Linked DNA regions of Homo sapiens: region 2 is linked to region 1. Evidence: promoter capture Hi-C in human tissues and cell types (Jung and others, 2019). All regions are on one chromosome and are shown on one strand. Each heading gives the region's core, a stretch centred on a gene start or on the middle of the fragment in contact. The rest is flanking DNA. Distances are from core to core; before and after follow the strand shown.

Region 1 (2,797 bases), core at 28-2,527:
AATTGTTTTTTTTTTCCTTGATCAGCTAAACTCTGTTCAATTCAATTTGTTGGAAGTTTTTAACATACCAATGGTGCACCAAGGTTCCAATTTCTCCACTTCCTCATAAATAAGTCATTTTAAATGGCTTTTCAGTATTCCAATATTTGGAAGTATTAATGTTTCTACCAATTTTCTATTTTTGGACATTGAGGTTGTTTCATTTTTTTTTTCTTTTTTTGAGACAGAGTCTCGCTCCGTCACCCAGGCTGGAGTGCAGTGGCCTGATCCCGGCCCACTGCAACCTCCACCTCCCTCCTCAGCCTCCTGAGTAGCTGGGATTACAGGTGCATGCACCACCACACCCAGCTAATTTTTGTATTTTTAGTAGAGATGGGGTTTCACCATGTTGGTCAGGCTGGTCTCAAACTCCTGACCTCAGGTGGTCCACCTGCCTTGGCCTCCCAAAATGCTGGGATTACAGGCCTGAGCCACTGCGCCTGGCCTCATCTTCTTGATATTAATGTTGCTTTAACATCTTTGTCCCTGTGTTTTTTGTTTTTTTTTTTGAGACGGAGTCTCATTCATTCTGTCACCCAGGCTGGAGTTCAGTGGCGTGATCTCAGCTCACTGCAACCTCTGTCTCCTGGGTTCCAGTGATTCTCCTGCGTCGGTCTCCTGAGTAGCTGTGTTCCTGGGTCTTTCGATGGTTATTTAATACTTCCCTACAGTAATGCCCTGTGCGTACATGCTAAGTGTGATGAAATGGTTGGCACAGTTAAATCTTTTGAAAGACATTGCCAAGTCACTCTTCAGAAAAGTGATAGGAGGTCATAGCAATTTTAAGAAGTCCTCATTTCTACATTTCCTTACTAATCTCGGTTGGTGTCTCTTCAATCTTTCCTCACACTTTTCTTGGGTTTTTCCTGAATCATGAGTCTACTACATTTACACATTTTAAAGCATCTTTAGAAACAGGATCTCATTTTGTTGCCCAGGCTAGAGTTTGGTGGCATGATTATAGCTCCTCATACTCCTGGGCTCAAGTGATCCTTCCACCTCTGAAACCCCAAAATTTGAGAAAGGTCTCATTTAATTTAGAAAGTTTATTTTGCCAAGGTTGAGGGTGCACACCTGTGATGATATACGAGTTAAAAAGAAATTATTTAGGCAGATACTGAGGGTAAGAAAGTCCTCGGTAAGGTTTTCTTTTCAATGAAAAGCAGCCCCCAAGCATTTTCTTTTCTAACAAAGAGCAGCCTGTAAAATCGAGCTGCAGACATACACAAGCAAGCTGGAAGCTTGCACAGGTGAATGCTGGCAGCTGTGCCAATAAGAAAAGGCTACCTGGGGCCAGGCAGATCCAACATGGCGGCTCCATCTTCCCTTTCCTTGTCAACCATGTGCACAGTAAGGAGCAGGCAACATAGTGTCCCCCGAGTAGAGACCAATTTGCATAATAAAAGGTGAGGGTAGGGTGGGCAGCTTCTTTGCATGCTATGTAAACATTATGCCTGGTCCAACCAATCTTTGGGCCCTGTGTAAATTAGACACCACCTCCTCAAGCCTGTCTATAAAACCCTGTCCATTCTGCCGCAGGCTGGAAGACCCACTGGGGCACCCCTCTCTCTCTATAGGAGACAGCTATTCATTTTTCTCTTTCTTTCACCTATTAAAGCTCCACTCTTAACCCCACTCCGTGTGTATCTATGTTCTTGATTTCCTTGGCATGAGGCAATGAACCTTGGGTATTACCCCAGAACCTTGGGTATTATGCCACTTCAGTGACACAGCCTCAGGAAATCCTGATGACATGTTCCCAAGATGGTCGGGGCACAGCTTGGTTTTATACATTTTAGGGAGACATGAGACGTCAATTCATATATGTAAGAAGTACATTGGTTCCGTCCAGAAAGGCGGGGACAACTTGAGGCAGGGAGAGAGCTTCTAGGTCACAGGTAGACAAATGGTTGCATTCTTTTGAATCTCCGATAAGCCTTTCCAAAGGAGGCAATCAGAATATGCGTCTATTGACTGGGCGCAGTGGCTCATGCCTGTAATGCCAGCACTTTGGGAGGCGGAGGTGGGTGGATCACCTGAGGTCAGGAGTTTGAGAGCAGCCCGGCCAACATGGTGAAACCCTGTCTCTACTAAAAATACAAAAAATTAGCTGGGCGTGGTGGCGGGCGCCTGTAATCCCAGCTACTCGGGAGGCTGAGGCAGGAGAATAGCTTGAACCCAGAAGGAAGAGGTTGCAGTGAGCTGAGATGGTGCCATTGCACTCCAGCCTGGGCAACAAGAGTGAAACTCCATCTCAGAAAAAAAAAAAAAAGGCCTGGGCAAAGTGGCTCACGCCTGTAATCCCAGCACTTTGGGAAGCCGAGGCGGGCAGGTCACAAAGTCAGGAGATTGAGACCATCCTGGCTAACATGATGAAACCCCATCTCTACTAAAAAATACAAAAAACTAGCTGGGTGTGGTGGCGAGCACCTGTAGTCCCAGCTACTCGGCAGGCTGAGGCAGGAGAATGGCGTGAACCGGGGAGGCGGAGCTTGCAGTGAGCCGAGATCACACCACTGCACTCCAGCCCGGACGACAGGGCAAGACTCTATCTCAAATTAAAAAAAAAAAAAAAAAAAAAAAAAAAGAGAGAGAGAATATGCATCTATCTCAGTGAGCAGAAGGATGACTTTGAATGGAATGGGAGCAGTTCCTAGCTTGAACTTCCCCTTTAGCTTCAGTGATTTGGGGGCTCAAGGTATGTTCCTTTCACATACCTCAGCCTCCCAAGTAGCTGGGACCACAAGTGCATGCCACC
Region 2 (2,700 bases), core at 46-2,545, 270 kb before region 1:
TATTGGGCAGCTCTGGGACAGGTGGACGGTGACTTGGCCCACACTCGGTCCAGCTGCAACCCTGAGAACCCGCTTGGTTTGGCTGTGTCTCCTGGAGGCCCTCAGGTATTTCAACCTGTAGGACCCAAACCCAGTCCTTCACCTGCTGCAGGGCCAGCCCTGGACACCCCTGCCCCTGCCTGATTTGGAGCAGCCAATTCAGCCCCTGTCATTGGACTCTGGCCTCTTGTGCTCAGTACAGAGGGTCAGACCTTGGCCGCCTGCCTGGACAGGGCCAGGTCACCACCACCCACCCCCAGCTCCCTTGGGTTCCCAGCAAGATCCTGTCCTTCCTCTACTCACAGCTTCCTGGGCTCTGGGACCTGGGGTCCAGTCCCCACTCCTCATGGGGAGGAGTCCCCCCACGCCCCAAGCAGTTGACTCCCGCACTGGTGGGGGGTCCGCTCGCCCTCAAGCTCTGCAGGCCCAGCTTGGTCTCCCCAGCCTCTTCACTTTCTCCACGGCTCCCTCCACCTACCTGGCCCTGAGAGCTCCCCAGGGAAGCCATTTCCTCCCAGGAAGCCCCTCCTCTTCTCGCCCCTGCCCTTACACCAAGGCATCTGGGCCTACTCTTAGGGAGAGGGTGATGGTGGAGGAAAGGGAGCCTCAGAGGAGGCCAAGTGTAAAGCACCCGGTCTCCTGTGCCTCCCAGCCCCAAGACGACCTCTGGGCCACCGGAGTCCAGACCTGGTCCAAGAGGCGAGGTCCCCCTGGGAAGTGCCTGAAAAGTACCCTGGAGGACATTTGGAAACAAAGACAAGGTTTCCTGGTGCCCAGCAAGCCCTCCCCCACCTCCCCTGCTCCTGTCTTGGCCAGGGCCTAAGTCGCACTCACGGGGCAGGGGTGGGGCCGCCCAGGATCAGGACCACGGGGCTGGGGGGGTGGACAGCGCCCTTTCCACCTGGGTCGCTGGGCACTGGGGTGTCACTGGGAGGGACACGCAGGAGGGACAGACACGCTACCTCACTCACGGGCGAGAACTAAGCACCTACTGTGGACCCGGCGTCTAGGCCCGCGACAACGCCAGTCTTCGCCCCCCAGGGGCCTCGTCCCGGGGCCGCGGAGGCCACGTGCAGTTCCCCGCCCACCCTGAGGTACCGGCCCCGCCCCACGCCCAGCTCGGACCTCCAGGATTGCGGGACCCGCCGGGGAGGGGCGGGGCCGGGGCGGGGCCAGGAGGAGGGCGGACTGGGCGGGCGCGGGCGGGACGGAGCTGCGGCGGCGGCGGGTCCCGCGGGCGGGAGCGCCTGGCGGCCGAGTCAAGCCGCCGCCTCGACCCAGGGCCCGCGGGCCAGGAGAGCGCTCGGCGGGTAAGCCTCGGCGGCGGGTCTCGGCGGGTCTCGGGGGTCTCGCGGGGGGGCGGTCTCCGCGTCTGGAAGGGGCTCGGCGGGCCTTGGCGGTCTGGGGGCTCTCGGCGGGTCTCGGGGGTCTCGGGGGAGTCTCGGGGTCCCGACAGGTCTCGGCGGGTCTCGGGGGTCTCGGGGGAGTCTCCGGGGAGTCTCAGGGGTCCCGGCAGGTCTTGGCAGGTCTCGGGGGAGTCTCAGGGTCCCGGCAGGTATGGGCGGGTGTCGGGGGTCTCGGGTGCGCAGCAGCCTCCCCCGGGCCCCGGGGCCTCCGTGTCCTTGCCAAAGGACGCACGGGGCCTGGGCACGGCGGGCAGTGCCCGAGGGAGCGCGGCTTCGGGGCGGGGGCCGGGTGTCCCTTGCCGGGGGCTCAGGGGTGGGAGGCGGTGCGACGCGTCTGTTTCGCACCCCTCGCGCCCCTCTGGCCCCGCGGCGGGGCCCCTTTACGCGACCCTCCCCACAAGACTCAAAGGCTGCGGCGGGCACTCGCTCTCCGCCCTTCCCGGAATCCAAACTTCCCTCTGCAGCGGCCGCGCTTCACGGAGGGCAAGAAAAGCCGCCCACTGGCGCTGATTCACACTGAAGTGTGAGTGACTGATAGCCGGGCGTCTGAGACTCTCATGGGCAACAGGGAATCTCAGGGGTGGCAGAGGGACTGGAGGAGTTAGGGGGCGGGGACAGCCCCTTCCACCTGTACGCTGGCCTCCCTGCAGCCCAGCACTTTCCCGCTGCTCTGGGCCTCGGCTCCCTGGGGGTATTGAGGGCCTGAGCCCTGCTGTGGGGAGCCTTCTGCTGGTGCTCCTTTCCGTGAGCACCTCCTATCCCCTCTCTGTGCCTCAGTTTGCTCATCTGTTGACACTGGGGACAGCTGTGCCTCCTGGTCTAGTGGCCACACTTAAGTCCTTCGAATTGGCTGTGGCCAGGGGCGGGTACTCCGTGTGGGCTGCTGGGGTGGACAGCCTGCCTGGATGACATGTGTGTGGCCTTGCAGGTGACATGGGCCGGTGATGCAATGTGTAGAATTGTTTCCACAACCGCCTGAAGGCAGGGCCCACAGCCTCCTCCTTGCCGAAGCAAGCCTCTGGGTTCAGGTCAGCCCTGCACCAACTCCATGAGCCTGGACAAGCTCCTGCCCTCACTGGCTCAGGCCCTGTGGGACCAGAGGAGGGGCTGGGCTCCACCCCCTCCTGGTTCTTCCCACTCTGTCCACTGTCTCCTCTACGTAGACACCGTCGAAGGGCCCTCTTGGAGCCCAACCTCAGGGCCCCACTCCAGGCACTCCACTCCTGGCAGGACAGGAGGCCTGGGACGAGGGCTG

What was found. Contacts are between HindIII fragments. The study calls those that stand out against the background at their distance.
Region 2: the fragment with the promoter of SH3BP2 here is called in contact with a fragment that was not itself captured in region 1 in 1 of the 25 tissues and cell types used here (mesenchymal stem cells).

The regions. Positions count from the first base shown.
Region 1 is chr4:3,059,388-3,062,184 of GRCh38, forward strand. It overlaps HTT-AS. Among named protein-coding and RNA genes, the nearest start is that of HTT, 14 kb to the right of the region's middle. The HindIII fragment of the contact is 6,114 bases long and covers 1-2,797 here.
Region 2 is chr4:2,791,790-2,794,489 of GRCh38, forward strand. It overlaps SH3BP2 (SH3 domain binding protein 2), which reads left to right and starts at 1,296. Exons shown (of 13, transcript NM_001122681.2): 1 at 1,296-1,349. RefSeq lists a silencer at 1,014-1,363. The HindIII fragment of the contact is 44,064 bases long and covers 1-2,700 here.